Linked DNA regions of Homo sapiens: all the other regions are linked to region 4. Evidence: promoter capture Hi-C in 16 types of primary human blood cells and fetal thymus (Javierre and others, 2016). All regions are on one chromosome and are shown on one strand. The core of a region is centred on a gene start or on the middle of the fragment in contact, and the rest is flanking DNA. Distances in the headings are between cores, read along the strand shown. Region 1 has its middle 52 kb from the start of COL1A2. Region 2 overlaps COL1A2 (collagen type I alpha 2 chain). Region 3 has its middle 41 kb from the start of CASD1. Region 4 holds the start of PON3 (paraoxonase 3).

Region 1 (6,211 bases), core at 213-2,712, 950 kb before region 4:
AAAATTTAATTAAATTATTGTCTGTCTCACACACAGAGAGAGTAAAATTCATCTAAGTTAATGTGTGCAGTGATTATCCATGTAAATCATTACATACAAGTTCAAGTTTGCTTAAAAATTTTTATTTTTTACAGATATGCATAAAAATTCAGAAAGGATGTATGTAAAAATATTAATAACCATTATCTCTAGTGAGGTGATGCATATTGCCAGGGTTTTTTCTTTAATCTGTCTGCATTTTTCAAAAAAACATAAACATATATTACTTTCATTATCAGAAGAAACTAGGATTATTTTTAACTAGCATTCACAAAACATAGATGGTATATTTAAAACTAAGCTTTATTGTATTATGAATGCAGGCTACATGTAGAACAATATATAGTTTTGATGTACAATTTCTGATTCAAATGAACAAGCACTTTGTTAAATTACTGCTAAACATTACGGAAACATGAGAACACATTATGACGCAGTATGTTTCAATCAACAAAATTTTATTCGTCTCCCTTGGTAAAGCAGTGTTATTAGGGACTATTGAACAGAACACGGAGACAGCCTCCTTATATTGAACTGGTTGTTAAAATACACCTGTCAAGGAAAAAAAGGTTCTGTCTAGATATGGATTATATAAATATACATAAAAAAATCTTTAGAAAATTGCCCTAGGAGGTCCTTTCTGAGTGTTTAGACATTCCTAATCTTTCGTGCTTCCGTGATATATTGTTAAAATATCTATTACAGCAATATTTTCTCTGCTTCATTCTCAAAAGATGCAGAGATGCATTCAGGTAATGAGGGAAATTTGTTACTGAAACACATATATCACTCTAGTAAGCCTGTTTTAATGATTGAAAAAAATATATGTCTCACATAGAAGGATTTTAAAGACAGGTTAGTTGAAATGGTTCTTTGATTATGTAAAATCACTGGTGGTTGATTCATTGTGTCAGATTTGAAATGAGATTAAATTGTAAGAGTAAGTTTTAAATTCTCTGCATTAAACTGAATTAATAAATTGAGCAAAGACATGATTCAAATAGGATTGAAAGGTTCTGCTAAAACCAGACTGTTTAGGTCCATTAGCAACCAGCTAAGAAAGAATATCTTATCAGAAAACAGCGTAGGCTGTGGAAAATTAATAGTGCTAGACCCAGTCTTGGTGTAGAATTACATGGAAGGGATTAGGAAGTGAGGGGAAGGTAATTAAGTAGAAAGAACAGCCGGAAAGAACTGAAAAGCCAAAGATCAGATGGTCCTCAAGTTGAGCCCCTCACCATCTGTTGGCAATCATCAAAATTTATTTGATCTTATTGTATATTTACTCTGTGAAAGGAAAAGAATAAAACCTCATTCTAATGAATGAATAGGTGAGATCAAGGAGAATACCCATTATAACAGAGCTCATTATTATAGCAAGTAAAATCATTCCCATTGCAACATAACAAATACAATTAATATAATCTAATTGTTACATCTTTGTCCATGTCCCTAATATGAGCTTCATAAAAAGATTCTCATGTTTTCCTGGCCCTTTGTGATTTAGTTGGAGCACTTTGTTTATAATTTTGCTGTCATTGTTTATTGTATGTTTGTCTATACAATTGCTCTTATAAAATTGCTGAGTGACTGCATGCATGCATCAGGAAAAGTAGGTCAATCAGCCACTTAATGTTTCCTCTTCTAATCTGCATTAGCACCTGTGATTTCAGTATCAGCTAAAGGGGTTACTACTATTTACCCAGTTATACAAAACAGAAAATACAATTCTTTCCTCTCCTTTACCTCTGGTTCTCACATCCAATCAACTACCATATCCTCCTAAATGTTTTTCTATAGCTTTACTTCTTTAGCCTTTGTTTTTGGGGCTTCCTCCCTTCTTTTTCGGCAGTACTGCAACTTTTCACTTCAGCCTTTCACCTTAACTAGTTACTACCTGCCTCTTTTCTCGTTCCCCTCAAATCCATCTTCCATTACACAGAGAAAACACAACTCTGACCTTTCAACTCCCTGTTAAAAGATTCCTGTTTCCACAGCACTTGCAGGATAAAGTCCAAAGGCATTTGTGTAGTATGGGAAACCCTTAACCACAGTGTCCCCTGACTATTTCAGCTCTCTAACTCTTTTCTCCCATCTCACAGTTTATGCCCTCCAGCAAAACCAGAGAGTAATTTATAAAGCAACTACCAATAAATAATTAAGCAATTTTTATTATAATCAACTCATGACATGCCTCAGGGATGAGTATTTCTATTCATTCTTAGGTCTGTGCTATGCATTAGTATTTAAAAATTAGCTGCTGGGGTTTTAGACTGTGAGCCTTGCAAGGAAGGCAGACCAAACTATACAGCCAGCTATCACATGGGAGCATCTGTGCAAGACGTCTCTGCACAGCTCAGCAAGACAAGCAGATACATCATCATATCTCTGAATACATATTAGTATTGCCCACCAGTCAAGCAGTATGCAGCTTCACAGGAGAGCTGTGTATTTTCCTTTATTAAAAAATGATTGAGACTGTCATTCTTTGCCTAGTGCCATCTTTCACATACCTAGCAGCACACTTTTAACATGCCGGATATTTGAAAGCTTTATCAGAAAAGGCTGGCTGCCTCATATCAAGTGTTTAATTTAGTTCTGAAGTCTCTTGAGAAAAATGAATTGATGTCAGATTTTTAATTTTAAAGTTACATTTGCATTGCAGATGGACTATTTAACAGTTCACGTAATCAATAAATTTAATACTTCAGCACAGGACATGTTAACGAGAGACGGTAGGATCTAAATTAGTGGTTTCTTTTGAAAATTCACATCATGCTTGCTTGCTTGCTTACTTAAATCTGTTAATCATAAGAAATCACCGTCTTGTAATGAAAAAATAAATAGCTGAATGTTTCCACAAAGTAGTCAGCTTCTTGGACATGATATTCATTTCTTTTTAGGGACTAACATATCTTGATAAGTAGTAATATTCTACCCCACTCACCCCTCCCTACCAACCTTGCAAAGAATGTGCAGATCCAAACTTTTAAAACCTGTTTAAAATGCTATTTCATAACTGTGCCAAATGCTAGCGAACAAATATTTTTAAATGTATTGGGTATTGTATTAAAAGTAATTAATGGCAAAAACCGCAATTACTTTTGAACCAACCGTACAAATGGGCACTGAGCTAGTAAAAAGTGAATATTTTGTGTTTTAAAATTATTCATGTTTCTTTTTATAAACAATAAACTTGTTTTATTGAACAGCATTATACATTTTTATCAGCTTTATTGAGATATAATTGGCATAAACTGCACATATTTAATGTATACAATTTGATGTGTATGATATATATGTGTAGGCTTTATGATTTCTAGTTAAAAAGTTAGAAATGAATGAAGAAGAAAACTATCCACTATATTCACAGTACTATAATCACAATTAAAACTTTAGAACATGCCCTTCCAAGTTTTTAAAATCTATTCATATACACATACGAATAAAATAGACATGTGCTTCCATTTCTACCAAATTGTGAACAAGCTGCATATATTAGGTTGTGTTTTTTTGTGTTTTTAACTAAAGTTTTCATAAATGTTTTTTCGTATTACTAAGTATCTTTCTAAAGATAATTTTTAATGTATACATATATCACATACATTTTTATCTGTAGTGAAATAATCACAAAATGAATGATGAAGAAAATAATCACCTATAGCCACCTATAACCACTACTTAAACCATAAAAACATAACCATATAAGTAACCATGCATATAATCACTATTAAAATTCTAAAATATGTTTTAATACACATATGAATTTTAAATATATGTAATTATATATACACACACTTTCATTTTTACTAAAATATTAATCAAACTATATGTATTATTTTATACCCCGATTTTAAAGAAAATTTAATAAGCAGTTTGTATACTTGCAATTTTTTTTACAAAAAGTTTAAAAAATACAGAAATGAATGAAGCCAATTATCACCAATAACTCAAGTAATACAGATAATCACTATTTAAACTTTGGAATATATACTTCTGGACAGATATAGAAAAAACCATTTTATTATTAAATTCTATTTTTAATTTAAATTTTATATGAGCATTTTTCCATGTTATTATATATCTTCTTAAGAAATAATTTTAAGCAGCAGAATAGTTTTATAACATGAAGTACTTTTGATAACATTGGATATAATAAAATCTTTTAAATCTTGGCCAATTTTATAGCAAAACTTTTCATTTTTAAAAAACATACAATCTTTTGATTAGTATTGAAGTTAAATGTGTTTTTCAAATGCTCATAGACCATTTTAAATGATGTCTTATTTATTTTGTCCATTCTGTATGCTATAAATAATTTTTCCATTTTATCATTTCCTTTTATGGCAATTTTCATGCACATATGTTTTCCTTTATATTTTTTCTTCATAATTTTTTTCTTTGCCTTTTTGCTTAAGCTAAATATTCACTTATATGATTTTTTTTTTTTTTGTAGAGATGGAGTCTTGCTCTGTCACCCAGACTGGAGTTCAGTGGTGCGATCTCTGCTCACTGCAACCTCCACCTCTCCTGTTCAAGCAATTCTCCTGCCTCAGCCTCCTGAGTAGCTGGGACTACAAGCGCACACTGCCATGCCTGGCTAATTTCTTTTGTATTTTAGTAGAGACAGGGCTTCACCATGTTGCCCAGGCTGGTCTCAAACTCCTGAACTCAGGCAATCTGCCCGCCTCAGCCTCCCAAAGTGCTAGGATTACAGGTGTGAGCCACCATGCCCAGCCTCACTTATATGTTTTAAAGTTTATTTAATTTTGAATTTGAATTTTTAACATCTGGGATTTATTTGTTATATAATGTAAGGTGACCAAGCATCCTTGTACACGGATTTGAAATTACATCTTTATCACATAATAAATTCTTATGTATGCATTTGAATTTAAAATTTGTGCTAGTGAAGTGATGAAAGCTGCAGTTCAATCTCTAAGCTTTTGTTCCTTTTGTATCTGTTTAGTTAAATGTGGCATTGATTTAGGGTGATACTTTTTCTTTTTTAACACTCCATAAAGCACCAAAGATACATTTAAATTTATATACATACATGTAACTATTTTTCTTCTTTAGGTTTATATTTTCTTTTAAAGCAATACAAGCTTTTTGTAGGAAAAATGTAAGTAAAATTGTAAGGAAGCAGAAAAATTATTTTGATCTCTTTTAATCAACAATAACCACTGATAACACTTTGGCATATTTAGTTTTACAACTTTTTTCACTTTTTCTTCTTTGTGGAGGATACAAGAGATGTAAATAAAGGTCTTTAAATGTTTTCATAATGATGATTGTTTTATGCTTCCAGTAGAACATTAACTTGATTTGTAATAATGAAATTTTTAATCCTCCTAATGGGATTTGAAACATATTTCTTAAAGAACCTAAATGTACAAACTCATATTCTGAAAACAAAAAAACAAATGTTTTTTAAAATTACTCATTAAAATGGAAATTCTCTATTTTCACCAGTGGGTGGCAATCTCAACATATACACTGTTTGGTATTTTCGACAGAACTGTTTATTGCAAAGGGGAAAGCTACCTAAAATGTCTGACAACTGTAACTCCAGCAGCTGTTGTTGCCCTTTAGTTGTTGCCCTTAAAAAAAGAAAAAGAGAAACCTGCAGGAATAATCACAAGTAAGAACATTACACAACATGGAATAAAATTACCCTGGTTTAACGTGGGCTTGGTGAAAATAAAAGCTATGTGTTAAAATACTATTCTTCATACGCTTCTAAAAAATCCAGTGTTTTAAATATTTCTAGAGAGGACTGAAATTTACATCAAATTTCCTACAATTACGTGAGTTTTAACTATTGCAAAAAAAAAAAAAAAGGTTATGGAGGATATAACTGTGATGTGTAAACAGCAAACTTTAATGGTTAGCAAAGCATCCAAAACACATAGCTAAACCAACATTATAGTTAGGGGCATTCAGGTAGTAGAAAGCTTTAAAGAGTGGGTGCATCCACATGGGAAAGACCTGCAAATAGCTGTCTGAAGTTGCGTTATCTCCTATTTGGAAACAAAAACAAACATAAAGCTAAAGTAATTGGTTTTTTAAAGTGCAAAATCCAATAATCTCAAATTTCAGATCATGAAAGAAAGCAGTTTGGGGCATTTCACTGATGTTTTGATCTACATATTTATATACTCAGTCCCCT
Region 2 (3,685 bases), core at 584-3,083, 970 kb before region 4:
GGGAACTCAGTTTTATCACAAAGCCCTTAAAGCTATTGAAGGCACCTTACTGGTACCAGGATTAGAACAGAGTCCCATTGCTGTGGCCATCCTACTACATATTAATCAATCTCAGTAGGCTACCAATTTCTTAAACATACACTGTCCAGTATTAGTGCTACTCTGAAAGGTGCCCCTATTAGACCTTAGAGGCCAAAGTCAAAATTTGCTTCCTTTTGATATACTGATTTTACTGATTTCCTTTTTGTTTTTGTTTTTTGTTTTTGTTTTTGTTTTTTTGTTTTGGGATGGAGTTCCCCTCTGTTGCCCAGGCTGGAGTGCAGTGGCACGATCTCAGCTCACTGCGACTTCCGCCTCCCCAGTTTAAGTAATTATCTTGTCTCAGCCTCCCGAGTAGCTGGGACTACAGGCACACACCATCATGCCTAGCTAATTTTTGTATTTTTAGTAAAGACGGGGTTTCACCATATTGGTCAGGCTGGTCTCGATCTCCTGACCTCAGGTGATCCACCCACCTTGACCTCCTAAAGTGCTGGGATTACACATGTGAGCCACCCCACCCAGCCTGATTTCCTTTCCTTTGTGTATATACCCAGCAGTGTGATTGCTGGATCTTATGGTAGTTCTATTTTTAGTTTTTTGAGGAACCCCTCCTACTATGTACAACTATTATGTATCCATAACAATTTAAATTTTTTTATTTGTTTCCCTGCCTAGAGGCTATAAAAACTCTATTTCACCACCCCAAGTGTCTTTATAAATCTCAACCACATATTTTTAAATGTTGTGCCATTGGTCTCAAGGATGAATCAGATACAAAAGTATTCATGCCAAGATGTAAACTCACCGTCATCACTAGAGAAAAGATATCCAAGGATATGTCCTAGTAATAGGAGGTCATTAGCCTTTTTCTAAGCTGAAGACAGTTTATTCTCACAATCTTCAAGCCAACCTGTGTTATCACCTAGGGTCTTACCCATAATACTCAGTATTTTTTCTCTATTTAGGGACCTCCTGGCACTCCAGGTCCTCAGGGTCTTCTTGGTGCTCCTGGTATTCTGGGTCTCCCTGGCTCGAGAGGTGAACGTGGTCTACCAGGTGTTGCTGGTGCTGTGGTGAGTGCTTGACAGTATTCTGACTCCATTAACATAAGAAAAGATTTTAAAAGCTGCCACTTCAAATGTGACAGATTGATCACTGAATAACTTCACTTAAGATTTTTATTCATGGCATTTTCTTTATACAGATCACATGTCACTTATCTAAGAAGCTTTAATACCACCTTACTTAGACACACACTATAAAGACACAGCTTAAAATTATGCAGAATGATTTTTGTTCTTTCCACGCACTTAGGAATGATACAATCTCTAATTGCGTTTACTCCTCTGCAATATGAAATGCTGGCATCATTTATCCTGTAGGAAGAATGAAACTCTGGAAGTTCTGAATCGTTCCATTAAACCTTATACGTGACAACAACTAGAAACCATCTCATCTCCATAAAATATATCAACTTTTTGAATTCATTTCATTTGGGATACTGAATGACACGAGGCTCACTTTTTACAGAGCAACATCCCGTGATTACATAAAGCTGGCCATCTACATGTGGAGAAGGAGGGCAGAGATGATACTAATGATACTTCTTACCATTGTGTGACCCATTCACATTCAATTTACCTTCTTCCTTCAAACTAGAATCTCCTGAGTAGGGTTGTTTTGGAGGGGAAGGTTAGCATTCCATCGAATAAGGGGAATGTCATTTTATCTTCTCTGCCTGTTTAGGGTGAACCTGGTCCTCTTGGCATTGCCGGCCCTCCTGGGGCCCGTGGTCCTCCTGGTGCTGTGGGTAGTCCTGGAGTCAACGGTGCTCCTGGTGAAGCTGGTCGTGATGTGAGTCCAACACTTGGTTTGTAAAATAAAACTGAGCAGGATTTCATTGTGTGAAACTTTATGTCCTGAGCTGAGGTTCTCTTCTTCCAAATTTCTGAACAAGATGGTCAGCTTCTCCATAGTATCTACACCTAGTACTGAAAATATGAAAATTGCTTAGGCCAAAGAATGGGCTTTTCAATAGCACACTGCAAAACTGGGCCCAAGTATTTAAAACATCTCTAAAAAATATCTAGGTTGGCAGGTTTTTATCCCTAGTTTTAACAGTCTGAAAGAGGGTTCGTTACTGAGCACTGGAAGTGATGAAGACAGAGTAGCTACAACATAGGGGCTGGTAGGCAGCAGAGCCTCACCAACAGCCTTAATTTGTGTGGTGTCTTCACAGGGCAACCCTGGGAACGATGGTCCCCCAGGTCGCGATGGTCAACCCGGACACAAGGTCAGTACACTTTTCATCTTTCTCTAATTCAAAAGTGATTAAAATGCAACCCAGATTGATGCTAAGCTTCATTTTGCCTTTGGTAGGGAGAGCGCGGTTACCCTGGCAATATTGGTCCCGTTGGTGCTGCAGGTGCACCTGGTCCTCATGGCCCCGTGGGTCCTGCTGGCAAACATGGAAACCGTGGTGAAACTGTAAGTTTGTGAATACCAGTCCCTCAGTGCAGCATTCTCGTGGGCTTCACTTCTGACTTCCCCACACTTGGGGATGGTGGAGGAGTGGGGAGGGGTATCTTGGGCCTAGCTAAGTTGTGTTTTTCTTTTTCATTTCACAGGGTCCTTCTGGTCCTGTTGGTCCTGCTGGTGCTGTTGGCCCAAGAGGTCCTAGTGTATGTACATGCTGAAGATTTCTTTGCAACACTAACATTTAGAGAGAATCAGTCCAAAACATCTGTTAAGAAAATAAACAATATATCAGCTAGACTTAATATTTTTTAAAAATTTCAGTCCATGCTGAGAATTGATACAAATAACTTGAGCTATTTTAAATCTCTTATGCTTGTTTGTATTAAACAATTACAAGGATCTAGCCACTTTACAGATAGCACAACTAAAGCAGATTACCAGCAGAGGTGAGAGCCTAGCTAAACCATTACATGTCCTGAGTTACCTTTGTAAACGAATTAAGCAGTATTTGTGGTGAAGTGAGTGCCATTTTTTTAAAACGGTAAGTCTTATCCATCCTTCTGTTTCTTTATAGGGCCCACAAGGCATTCGTGGCGATAAGGGAGAGCCCGGTGAAAAGGGGCCCAGAGGTCTTCCTGGCTTAAAGGGACACAATGGATTGCAAGGTCTGCCTGGTATCGCTGTAAGTAAACTGTAGCCATCTCGCACATAAACTGATCCTGAAGGCCTTCAGCTCAGAAGGATTTTCATATTTTCACTGCTATTGTTCCAGTATAGCCTATATAATATCCATTTCCCATTCTCTGGCTAACTCCATCTCACTCTTGGAGGTAATGCTATTTCATACCAACATGAAAGGTGAGGATTAAGGGAGATAGAAATAGACATACAATAAAATCTCCTGGTAACAATGTCCTTCAACCCCACTTAAAATAAACATAATTAGAGGAATGACTAATATTGCACTGCTGAAATAGGTTGTGAAAAAAAAATTGAATATAATAGACATAATGGGAGAAAAGAGCCCCACTTTACATTTTCAATTTTCTCAATCCGGAGTCCATTTAACTAAAGTTTCCCATTCAATTTGGAAAAAAAAAAAAAATATGTCTCTTGACATGTGCTCTGAAAGTGTGATTTTCCTCTTCTGTCTTTAAAGGGTCAC
Region 3 (5,842 bases), core at 3,106-5,605, 930 kb before region 4:
CTAACATATATAATATACATATATACATATACATCAATGAGTATATTCATGTATGTTTACATATATATGAATACATACACTCTGAGAATAATTTTCTTCTAATATAAATGAGAAACTTACAGTGAATAACCATGTGCTGCCCACAAAGGAAGTTTCAACAAATTAGCAACAGAACAGTGTATGTTCACTGCCCACAATACAATGAAATTACATGTATACCACTAAGAGATAGCCAAAAAGTAAAAACATACGAAATAATAATAAATGAAAGGTCTAATTTTTATTTTCAAAACTATCTTTATATGGTAGTGCATTCTATAATTAATGACTTATTAAAGCTGATGAACTATATGCCCAAATAACTTATCCAAAATTCCAAAATCCAGAAAACTCTTGAAGTTTCAAGAAATTTTTAACTCATTTGACAGCAAAATATAACCTAATCTGAAATTATTTAGTAGCTACAGTTGATCTTAATTCACAAGATGTCATATAAAGCCTTTATTTATTCTATACAGTGTGGATATTCATGTTTGTGACAAAAAAAAAATGTGTTTAAGCAAGCAGTGCTGCCCCAGGTGCCTGTGGAAGAAGTTGCATAATAAATCCACATCTGTGATATGAATTTATGTTACTATTCTAAAATACAAAAATTTTTGAACTCTAAAATATACATCAGACTTCAAGTGGTTTGGGTAAGAGATTCTAGGCCAGTTTAGCATTTCTTCTGTATTTCAAACCTAAGAAAATCAAGTAATGAGGACAGCTTTTTAGCTCCAATATTTGTTTTCTACCTCCTAAAACTTCCCAAACACTTTTTTCTGTGGCAGGACACCAATTTTGTGGCTATTAAAATATGCAAACTAAAACTATTTCATTTTTACTTCCTTTCCTTCATGCAGAGAATGATGGAATGCAAATATTTTCCCTTGCCTCGAGGCAGGGTTCAGATATTAAGAAAAAGAACTAATATTTTGATTGTTAATGATTCAGCCTCTATGGGTAATGAGCCATCAAGGTTTATTGTGAAAAGAACAGGAGAACTGAATTTGAGGAAAGAGGCAGTGCCTGTGTTGGAAATCTGAATAGAGAGGAATGGATTTTCCTCACCTCTCCCATGCTTAGCTAAAAGGTAGCTAAGAAGAGGTGAATAAAGGAAAGAGGGTACCAGAAGGAGCCCCTGGAGCTCATGAGCCCAAACAAGGTAGAAGAGGGCCTGCTGCCTGGAAAGAAACAAATGGATGGACCTAATTAAGGGCTACTGCCAAGAACACTACACAGTGCCCAGGTATTAAATGGAAGATGAGTAAGCAGGAGTCTTCACTTGTATGAGAATGTCACTATCCCAGTTGAACCTCTCATTAACAACAAGAAGGACTTAATTAGAATGCAGTGCTTCATCTATTGATTTTGGGCAGGGATGATGCCTCCTGGGTTATATGATTTTACCAAGTCCTGTCTGAATACCCTATGGAGAAACCCCCATTCTAATTATGACACTTCAGAAACTCCTTCAAGCCCAAGATAAGAGAGATAAAATCCTGGGTATCTAGTGCAGTAGCAGTGATGGGAAAATCACTCTGCATTTTCTCCACAGGGGAAGGGGTACAGAATTGCACCTAATTTTATTTTGTAAGTGGCCTAGGAAACTGTCCTGCATCTGAATGATTTGCAAATATATAATTGTTTGTGCTTCTAGCTATTCCACTCCCTCTTTATTGATATTCATTATCAGAAATGTGGACAGTTTTAGTCACTATATCAATCTATAAACTTTGAAATAAAGAGTAAAATAAGGAATAGTGTTAAAAATGATTGCAGTGTATGCAACAGTTTTAATGCAAAAATAGACTTTGTATAAGCACTACTAAAACAAACAACAAGAAAATCTGGAGCAATCTCTGTGATTTTGTGGACCTGTTTCCTGTGTTGAGTGAATCTATATTTTAAGCCCAGAGAAGGAAGCAGACTCTTGTCTTTCCCACTTTCACGGATCATCATTTCACCTGTTCTATCAACCTAAATTCCATCCTCATCTGAATGTATATATGGTATGAATTATAGTCATTTTCAAAAAAGTAAAAACTTGACTCTCATACAAATATATGATTAACACATGTCAAAGATGTTATTTAACTCTTTAATTGATCGAGAGACCTATTGCAATGGGTTCAAAAGAGACCTCATAGAAGACAAATTTATGAATCTGAAATATTGAAATGAATTTGCAAAACTGAGTTTTCCACAGGAGAAAAGGTGTTTCCCCTCATAGATAGAATTTATTTGCATGTCTATAGGCAAGAATTATTTGCATTGCTACCTGTTTCAAGTTAACTTTACCGTATACAGAGTAGTAAAATAGCTTAGCTAAAGACAAAATCGCATATCCCTACATGTTCAATAACCCCCAAAGGCTCTAGCATTGCATTGAATTTATATACAGTAATCTCATTTGTGCATTCCAAAGTCTTAAATTTTCCCTTACAAACAACATTTTTATATAATCTTTACATTTTCATAGCTACTTCTGCAATTCTATAAGTCAAGCCGAAGCTTCTTTCTTAAAGGAAATGTTCATTTTTCATGCAGATTATAATAAAATGTTAAGCCTCTTGATAATTGTCAAAGTATCAATGATAGTGAATAGGCAAAAATTATTTCCTGTTCTGATATGTAATAGCTATACTTACAGTTTGCAAAACCTTAGACAAGGGTAAGAAAGAGAAAAATAATTAGTCAATTTTTACTTTTGTTGTGACAGGGTCTCACTCTGTCACCCAGGATTGAGTATAGCGGTGTGATCTCAGCTCACTGCAACCTCTGCCTCCCTGGCTCAAGTGATCCTCCCACCTCATCCTCCTGAATAGCTGGAATCACAGGCACACACTGGCTAATTTTTTGTATTTCTGGTAGACATGAGGTTTCACCTTGTTGTCCAGGCTGGTCTCAAACTCCTGAGCTAGAGCAATCCACCTGTCTCGGCCTCCCAAAATCCTGGGACTACAGATGTGAGCCACTGTGCCCAGCCAATCATTACTTTTAAAATAATGTTTAGCAGAAGCAGCATCTTGATAGTCATCAACAGCAATATCAATAAATATTTTATGTGCTATAATATTTTTGGTTAGAAGTAAGATTAATAAAATAATTCAATTCTCAATAAAGGTCTTATTTAGATAAAATGTAGCAAGTAATTTAACTGTATTAGAGACCTTTTAAAAAGAACTGGGCCACTCAAATTGTCATTCCTTAATTTTTTTTTACATTCTAAGATAAAAATATAATAAACTAAATGCCAATAGTAGCTGATATATTAACAATGGAGCACAATATTAGTACAATAAAATTTTTTCTTTAATACATTACACATCACATATGTTGAGGTCCTTTCTATGCTGCACAAAGAAATCTAGCCTGCATTTACAATTTTAAATTATTATATTCTTGTGTAAATTTTATAGTTGATTTATAACTTGGGATTTATTTGATGTCAAGCCTTCTGGTCACAAATGAAACTCTAAATTGAAGCACCATAGAAGCATCTGATTAAAAAAATTACTCACTGCTTTGACGGAATTATATTACAGAAGTATATTGCAGCAAAAAGTAGGGATTTTCTTGTATGTTTTTCCAAATAATTGGGAAAACTCTGCTTGCAGCTATTTCAGAAATGCTCATATCAGAGCAGTTCTTGCCCAAGTTAACTATAAAATGCATGAAACAATAGTTTGACAACATTCAAGAGCACTTCCAGCAGACAGGACTTGAGAAGCAGCAGTCCGGGAGAGAAGGAAAACACACTGAAGTGAGATTCTGCCCTGTATTTCCCTTCAAGACATCTGCAAATTTGCATCTGAGAGAAACAGAGATTAAAAAGAAAGACAAACCTGGCTTACGACACTCTCACTGGGCTGAAGAAACAGAGTTTGGGGGTGAGGGCATGTAATAGAGTTAAAATTTGGGGAAGAAAACACATAAAAGTAAGCGTGAAATTCTGCATGCAATTTCCTTGCAAGGGGTGGCCATCCCCAAAACTGCATATACACAAAGCAAGACTCCTAAACATCTAGCAGAAAGTACCAGTATGCCAAAGAGCTAAGCAAAGATTTTAGCAGTATGGTAGTACCAAGGGCATATAGATTATAATTCAGGGCTCACAAAAGTAGAGGGGACCCAGGAAACACCCCCATGATTTCACATGAGACCATAAAAAGGTTATACCTTAGAAGTAAAAAATAAGGAATAAAGGCAAATTAAAACTAGACCAGTTCCATCACAGTATAGAATCCACTCTTGGAATCCACTCTTGACTAGATAAAAGTGACCTGTTATATCTCTATCTACTTGCCAAAATGAAATTAAATTATCTTTGGGGAAAGATATCGTCATCTAAGGCCTGTATAATTTTTCATACAGAATCTCTAGTATTCCATCAAATATTGTTAGGCAAGATAAGAAATTGGAACATATAACAAAAAACTAGGAAAGATTTGACAATGAAATGGAAGTAAAGATGACCCAAATAGTGGAGCTATCATTAGAGACCTCAAAATAACATTATGGCCAGGTGTTGCGGCTCATGCCTGTAATCCCAGTGCTTTGGGAGACTGAGGCAAAAGGATTGCTTGAGCCCAGGAGTTTGAGACTGGCCTGGGCAACATAGTGAGACTTTGTTTCTACAAACAATAATAAACTAATAATAATGTTTAATATGTTCATGAAAATTGAGAAAAGAATGGAGAATTCATAAGAAACAAGGAATCTACTAAATAAAATAAAGTGGAAATTGTAGAAGTTGAAAAGATAACTGAAATAAGAATCTAATACTTGGATTTAAAAGCAGATAAGGCAAATAATAAAAACATACATCTACATAAAGACATGTACGCAAATGTTAATAACAGCATTATTCAAAATAGCCCAAAACTGGTAGTAATCCAAATGCCCATCAGCTGATGAATGGATGAACACATGAGGTATAGGCACACAATAAAATACTATTCAGCAACGAAAAAGAGTAGACTGCTCATGTATTCAACAACATAGATGAACCTCAAAAAAATGTTAAGTGAAAGAAGACCGACACAAATGGCTATATAGTGTACCATTCTATTAACAGAAAATTTCTAGAAAAGGTAAACTTATACACACAGAAGTAGATCCACAGTTGCCTAGGGCTATGGGTGGGAGTGGAAATTAACAACAAATGGGCACAAATAAATTTTAGGGGGTGATGGAAATGTTCTAAAACAGAATTGAGGTAATTTTACACAAATACACAAATTTACCAAAATTTATCACATTGTACACTTATATTTGGTTAATTTATGCTATGTAAAATTATAAATTATATCTCAATATACGTTTTTTTAACTTTAGCTGACTCCTAAATGATGCACTTGCCAGACAAAATCGAGATAAAGATTCTTAACAATTAACTGTGATTTTAGCTGCCACACAAGAGACAGCGTTTGATGCTTGAGTCCACCCGAGTTTAATATCTGAAAAAAAAATCAGAACTTTTGGAAGACTATAAAAGAATGCACAATATAACCCTGACAGTGCCCAGGGTATAGAAATTACTGAATATATTTTTAAAACAGGAAGTATTACTTTTCTCGACAGAAAAGATAGAATATTGTTATACTAATGTTGGTAAATATATACACCAACCCTGGATGATACAGAAGTTGGAATTAGTAGGCAAAGATTTTAAAGTAGCTGTTATAACTATGGTCAGTGAAATAAGGAAAAATATGTTAGCAATAAATAAAATAATAGGAAATCTCAGTAAAGATAAATAAAATATGAAATATTTTGAAATATTTATTAAAATAAGCTA
Region 4 (6,149 bases), core at 3,189-5,688:
AAAGGCATAGAAGGAAACGATCTTGGCTCATAAGCTAAGCCCATCACCCCCTAGTTCCGGACCATTGGGCAAGCAACTTAATTCTTCTGTATGTCAATTTCCTAATCTGCAAAGCATAGATAGCAGCATCCACTTTACAAATTGGTTATGAGGATGATGTAGATGTTTGTAAAGGACTCAACAGGCTGCTCATAGTCACCAGGCCTTTGATAAAGCAGCTTTTTCAAAACATATATATCAGTATTGTCCTACTGACACATGACCCATCATCATTCTAACTTGTTTAGTTCACCAAACATATGCCAATAGACATGAGAAGTAACATGGCATTTCTTTCTTCTGCTCCCAGCCTGCTTCCAACTATTTAAGCCATTTTCTTCAAAATATTTGGCAAATCAGAACATTGACCTAAGACTCACAATATTAACTGTAATTTTACCTTCTCAAATCTAGTTGAGTGATACAATTCGAGTCAGACTAGACCCTACCAATCATCTAGTCTAATTATACCTCTTGATTATTTGCAGGCTTATATATTTTGACAGTTATTTGTATAGTGAATATGAATACTACTACACCACAAAACAGTAAACAAATGAGTAAATGTCACATTTCCTTATTTTTAAAATCAAATTAAATCACTCTGATATCCTATTCCACTAAGTTGATGGAAAATCCAATCTGAGTCATTACTGGGTTTGTCTGTTAGGGTTATGAAATCATTTTAAGTGGTGGGTTCTAAACCTAAGCAGAATGTTTTGGAAAGGCCATCTGGCATTCATTCTACACTACGTATCATCGAATTATTCATTGCCAAAGTTACTGGTCCCTTTAATTTAGACAATTCTGCTACTTCCATGTAATGCATTGACACAAGGTCTTTACCTTAGCTGGAACACAGGGTCCAGCGTCCCTAAAGATACCTTGCAACCATTCCTTCTGAGGTCCTGCTCCTCTCCCAGAATGCTGTCAGCCAGTGGGGTAAGGATCCCCATTATTCAAAGATATCCACATATTCATATCCCTTCTCCAACAGAATCCCTTGAAGGGGCTCAGGTTTTTAAAAACAATTCAGGAAAGGCGTTTTCTTTGGTTTCTTCTGCTTTCCAGCTGCTAGCACAAACCACCTCTAAGACTAGGGAGTGCAAGGTTCAGATTACTTTATTTTTTAGAAATTGAGAGGCAAGAAAAGGCAGAAAACTCAAATCAAAAGGGTACTTTTTCTGTATTTTTAAATATAGCAATAAAATAGAAAATCATATCCCAAAATAAGCTATCTCATCACATTCTAATAAATAAGTCACAGTTCTTGGCCCTAGGGAGTTTACAATCTGATAGTGAAAGAGAGAACACTGCTAGCTATAATACAAGGCATGTGGCAGGTGTCATAAGTGAATCGGAGCTTCAGAGTGCTGTGAGAGTTCAGAGGAAGGAGATGAATTTTGCAGCTGATTTTAGTAAGCAGAGACAGAGGAATCAGTAAGTTTGGAGGGAATTTCATAAGCAAAGGTGAGAAGGTGAAAGAACATATTCCCAGAACAGGGAACACAATCTAGCCTGATTTTATTTTATTTTTCTGTTAGCAATGTCAGGAAGAATTGGAGCTGTGGAGCCCAAATAAGCAGGTGTGGCATTAACTAGTAGGTGAGATTAGCCCATGTCTCACGTAGAAGCATGAGGGACAAGCGGGGAACAATGGTTCCTGGATTTTGAACTGAATCTTTTGAGAATGGGGGTACCATACATAGGAAAAGTCTAGAAGCAGAGCTGGTTGTGGGTGGGAGGATGAGGGAGAAAACGACAGAAATGTAAAATAGATTTCAGCTTAGGGAGAGTTTGAGCTGGAGCTGCCCTTTAACTGACTAAAAAAGAAGGGCTGCAGTTTGAAAGGTTAGGGACTGGGCCATGGATTTTTTATGAATTTTTTTAAAAGAAGGTAGGTAGGCTGTGAGGTTCCTTCGTTTATTATTTTTTTTAAGACAAAGTCTCGCTCTGTCGCCAGGCTGGAGTACAGTGGCGCGATCTCAGCTCACTGCAACCTCCGATGACTCCCTGGTTCAAGTGATTCTCCTGCCTCAGCCTTCCGAGTAGCTGGGATTACAGGCACACGCCGCCAACATGCCCGGCTAATTGTTATATTTTTAGTAGAGATGGGGTTTCACCATGTTGGCCAGGATGGTCTCGATCTCCTGACCTCATGATCCGCCCCCCTCGGCCTCCCAAGTGCTGGGATTACAGGTGTGAGCCACTGCGCCCAGCCTGCTGTGAGGTTCTTGAGGGGAGGGGCTGAGTCATATTATTTGAAAAAAAATAACACTTGAAGCCAGGAATGACAATAAGGAAAGGGAGGGAGGAAGGAAAGAAGAAAGAAGCAAAAAAAGGAAAGGTAACAGAGGACAAGGAGGAGAGTGAAATACCACAGATGGGAAAGGAGAAGCATTCAGTGAGGGGAAAACCAGGGAGTGGTCAATGACATTCTTTAGGTAATGTGGAGAGATGTCAGTAAGGAAATGTGCTGAGAAAAACCCACAAAGAATGTCATTTAGTACACCCCTGAAGACCTTGCATGGGGCAGAGTGGACGGGGCAGATGTCCCACTGGGAGGGCTTAAGTAGTGACAGGTAATTAAATGAGCTGGTAGGGCTCAGTCAGGTGGATGACGACCAAGAAGCTGTGCTGGCTCCTCTTGGTACTGTCACATACATACCAAGTTCCTCAATAAGGTGGCAGTTTTCAGGTTCTACTGGCTCCACTTCTCGAGAGGCATTCACCCTTTCTCTGTAGAAGATAAAACCCAACCCTGGAAGTCAAGGCACAGCATTCAAAATGTATGTTTAAATGTGGACTTCAATCATCTTCGTGTTGGTTAACTATCTTTATCATAATTTATGAATGACATAACAAGTAAGTAGGTACTTCCTTTCATGTTTATTTACATAATGTAGACATTATGTGGGTATTTTACCTATATCAGCTAACCTTACCCAGTTATTGCTGAAAAACTGTATAATATGATTCAACATGGAAAATTCTGCTGCCCAAATAAAAGACACTATTTAATAGTATGAGTAATTGAACAATATTATTAATTTAAATGCACGAAATAGCCCTAATTTTCTAAAGTATCGTCTGTTATAAATCTGCACTTAATCCCCTACAGTCTTGCCCTTTGAACTTTTCCTTCCAAACTGCTTTCCCAAAATTCAACAGGGTCTCCTAATAGTCAAACTCTATCACTTTTGCTTTAATTTTTAAATTTTATGCTGACTTACTCCGCAAGTATGTAAATTCATTAAACCAACCACAATTTAAACAATTGGCCGATTTATTTTTCAACACAATTTTCTTGTTTCCAGAGTGAAAAGGAATGTTTCCACATTCTTCTAATATCAGGGATAATTTAAAATTTTTATTAAAGTATATTCAGAAAGACTCAATACTTATCTTACAGTCATTTATTTAAAAAAATACCCTTAGATCTACTTTATTATTATTACTATTATTTTATGATTCTCCATGTGGTTGCACTGGGAGCAAATGTAACAATAAAACTCTCAAACTGGAAGTATTACTAATAGGCACCAGGCACCTCAACAGATTCTAGACGTGATCCTCTAAGAAGACCAGCTTCAACTAAGAGAAATACATAAACACTCAAAGACAACTGAAAGCAAGCAGAGGCTTTCGATCCACTCATGAATGTGTATTATCACTTAAAGGTTCTTCTTTCTAGCCCAGTATTGACTTTTCCTGAGACATTTCTAGGCTGGCTATCACCATTGTATCTTCCACTTCAAAAGGTCAAATGCCTACAAAATGCCAGTTACCGCCTGCAGGTTTCAGCTGGTTTGCCCTGCTGTCTGGCCAGCTCTTTAAATCTAGGATAGGTTCCATAACCCAGTACTTCTGCATGGTTAGCCAGACCTGGGCAATGTCTCAGTCAGCCGTAAACATCCAACTGGTAGCCTGATCCTCTCTCCCAAGTCCGGCGTTTCCAATGGACGTCCTTTTTTCCCAAGCAGAATGTTGAGGGCGAGCTGGGAAAGGGGTCATCACGTTCAGAAAGTAAAAGGGGGTCATGACCTTCAGAAAGCAAAGTGGGGGATCATAACCTTCAAAAAATAAATGGGACTAATTCGGCTCGGCAGTCTTTGGAAACGCAAGTAGCTCACTTTCCCCATAAGCGAGTCTCAAGGGGCGGTTTGCTGGGTGAGATGGAGGAGTGAGGTTCCAAAGCTGCTCTTTCCTACCCGCTAGGAAGGGGGCGCCAGGCAGCCCCTGACCTCACTTGGAAGAGGAGAGAAAGAGAGTCGAAGACGCCCTGTCAAGATGCCACTCACCTAAACGCCAGGAACATCTCCCCGACTAAGGACAGGCCGACCCCCAGCAGGACCAGCGCCACGAGCTTCCCCATGGTCTCGGGGTGCCCAGCGGCGACTGCGCGGCGCCGAGAGCTCTCGGGGGCGCGGCGGGCGGTTCCTGCCTCGCGTACGGATTGGGGCCCGCTCGGCCCCGCCCGCACACGCCTCCTACTTACCTGAGCGGCCCGGGTGCCGCAGCAGGGCGCTGACGAGTCCCGCCGAGCCCCGCCGCCCGGGTTCAAGGCCGCCTTCACGCCCACGATTCCTTGTTTTTTGGGCAGAGGTCAAGGCTCAACGGAGAGGGAGCCCGGGACCGAGTTGTGGTGGGAGTTTGCTCCTAACACCCGCGAAATCCTACCTCAATTCCTCAGATGGCCTGAGGGAGAAACCGGAGGGCCCGGGAATGGCGGGGAGCTCCAGTTCAGAGCCGGAACTCCGGACTTCTGCAAGGCCAGACGTGAGGCGACACTGAATTGCTCCCGAGACGCGGGAAGGGCGAAGGCAATCGAAGCGAAGAGCTTTAACTCATCTTCTCCAGGATTTGGGGCACGGGAACCTGTCTCCTGACCTTCGTGCCTTACCTCGGAGTGTGCTGCCCAGACGGACTTGTGAATAGCTGCGTCTGTCCCCATAGTTAACGGGAGAAGGAAACACCAGGAGAAAAGAAGGAAAAGACAGGAAACGGGAAGAGGAGCAGAGGCGAGGAAGGGGAAGGTCATTTCCTTGGCAGGGTAGGCCCTCTTTCTTCTAGGTCTTGAGTTCCTGCCAGGCAAGAAATGCTCTTTCCCCTCTCCTGATGAACACCAGGTTGGAGGGGGAGGAACTGAAGATGCGGGAAGACTTGGGGAGTTCGGGCAAAGTAGCACATTCAAGCATGATCTATTTTTATTTACGGACAGAAAGAAATATTAGTTCTGTTAGGTTCCACCGAGTAAACTATTTGTTGAGAGAGCAAGATTTGCCAATCCTGGGGGTATTAAGGAAAGAAAAGGTGGTCCCTGACCTATGGGATACATGATTCTAGTATGAATACGTAATTACAGGATGAATAATGAAGCCCACCGCTTATGCAGTACTGACTGTGTGCTTTGCCTGTGCTGACACCTATGTTAACGCATTTAATTATCAACACAATCTCTGGAGTGTGGGTAGCCTTACCCCAATTTTACAGGTGAGACCTGCAGCACAGATTGCTTATGTGGCTTGCTGTAGGTCAGGCAGCTGTCAAGCAGCAGACTCCAAAATCTGGGCCCTTAACTGAGCTGCCTCTACCATGCTGCCTCTAGAAAATCTATGGAAGAAGGGTTGTATTAAAAGGACAGTGTAACGTCTTGAATTGTATAGATTAGAGTTCTTGTTAAGATGACTAATGTTAAAAGAGTGCAAGCAGAGGAGGAATCGAAGTCAGGAGGGCTCACAGAGCTGAGGGGCCTGGGGTGTGATGTAGACATGCATGCAGGGTTTGGGAGTCAGGCTGCCTGGGTTTGGATCCAGCCTAGATAAAGTACTCAGCTTTATTGAGCTACAGATTCCTCTTCTGTAAAAGAACGTCCACCTCATAGGTAGCTTAAAATTAAATGTGATAATGAGTGTCAAGTGCTCTGCACTGTGCTTGATACGTTTTATGAAGTCAGTAAAGATTAACCACTAATTAATTCTGAACTTTGCTTGAGATTGTAGGCTCCTGTGGGAAGGACTCCATCGCATTGATCACTGGGTTTTCCCGTGCCATCCATAGAACTTTGTGCTTAATAATGACTCAATAAATATGATTAGATGGATGGATGT

Evidence for each region. The method cuts DNA at HindIII sites, captures the fragments that hold promoters and counts their contacts. A CHiCAGO score of 5 or more calls a contact.
Region 1: a contact is called between a fragment that was not itself captured here and the fragment with the promoter of PON3 in region 4, in 4 of 17 cell types (total CD8 T cells, total B cells, M1 macrophages and 1 more). The highest score is 5.9, in total CD8 T cells.
Region 2: a contact is called between a fragment that was not itself captured here and the fragment with the promoter of PON3 in region 4, in 1 of 17 cell types (total CD4 T cells). The highest score is 5.3, in total CD4 T cells.
Region 3: a fragment that was not itself captured here is called in contact with the fragment with the promoter of PON3 in region 4 in 1 of 17 cell types (megakaryocytes); the score reaches 5.4 in megakaryocytes.

What each region holds. Positions count from the first base shown.
Region 1 is chr7:94,443,803-94,450,013 of GRCh38, forward strand. No RefSeq gene overlaps it. Among named protein-coding and RNA genes, the nearest start is that of COL1A2, 52 kb to the left of the region's middle. The HindIII fragment of the contact is 2,249 bases long and covers 339-2,587 here.
Region 2 is chr7:94,423,329-94,427,013 of GRCh38, forward strand. It overlaps COL1A2 (collagen type I alpha 2 chain), which reads left to right. Exons shown (of 52, transcript NM_000089.4): 41 at 1,008-1,115; 42 at 1,789-1,896; 43 at 2,282-2,335; 44 at 2,422-2,529; 45 at 2,670-2,723; 46 at 3,095-3,202; 47 at 3,680-3,685. Among named protein-coding and RNA genes, the nearest start is that of COL1A2, 30 kb to the left of the region's middle. The HindIII fragment of the contact is 1,131 bases long and covers 1,269-2,399 here.
Region 3 is chr7:94,465,758-94,471,599 of GRCh38, forward strand. No RefSeq gene overlaps it. Among named protein-coding and RNA genes, the nearest start is that of CASD1, 41 kb to the right of the region's middle. The HindIII fragment of the contact is 3,609 bases long and covers 2,552-5,842 here.
Region 4 is chr7:95,391,937-95,398,085 of GRCh38, forward strand. It overlaps PON3 (paraoxonase 3), which reads right to left and starts at 4,439. Exons shown (of 9, transcript NM_000940.3): 1 at 4,341-4,439; 2 at 2,708-2,778. The coding sequence starts at 4,414. LOC107986822 (a long non-coding RNA gene) reads left to right here and starts at 4,536. Exons shown (of 2, transcript XR_007060439.1): 1 at 4,536-5,092. The HindIII fragment of the contact is 14,130 bases long and covers 1-6,149 here.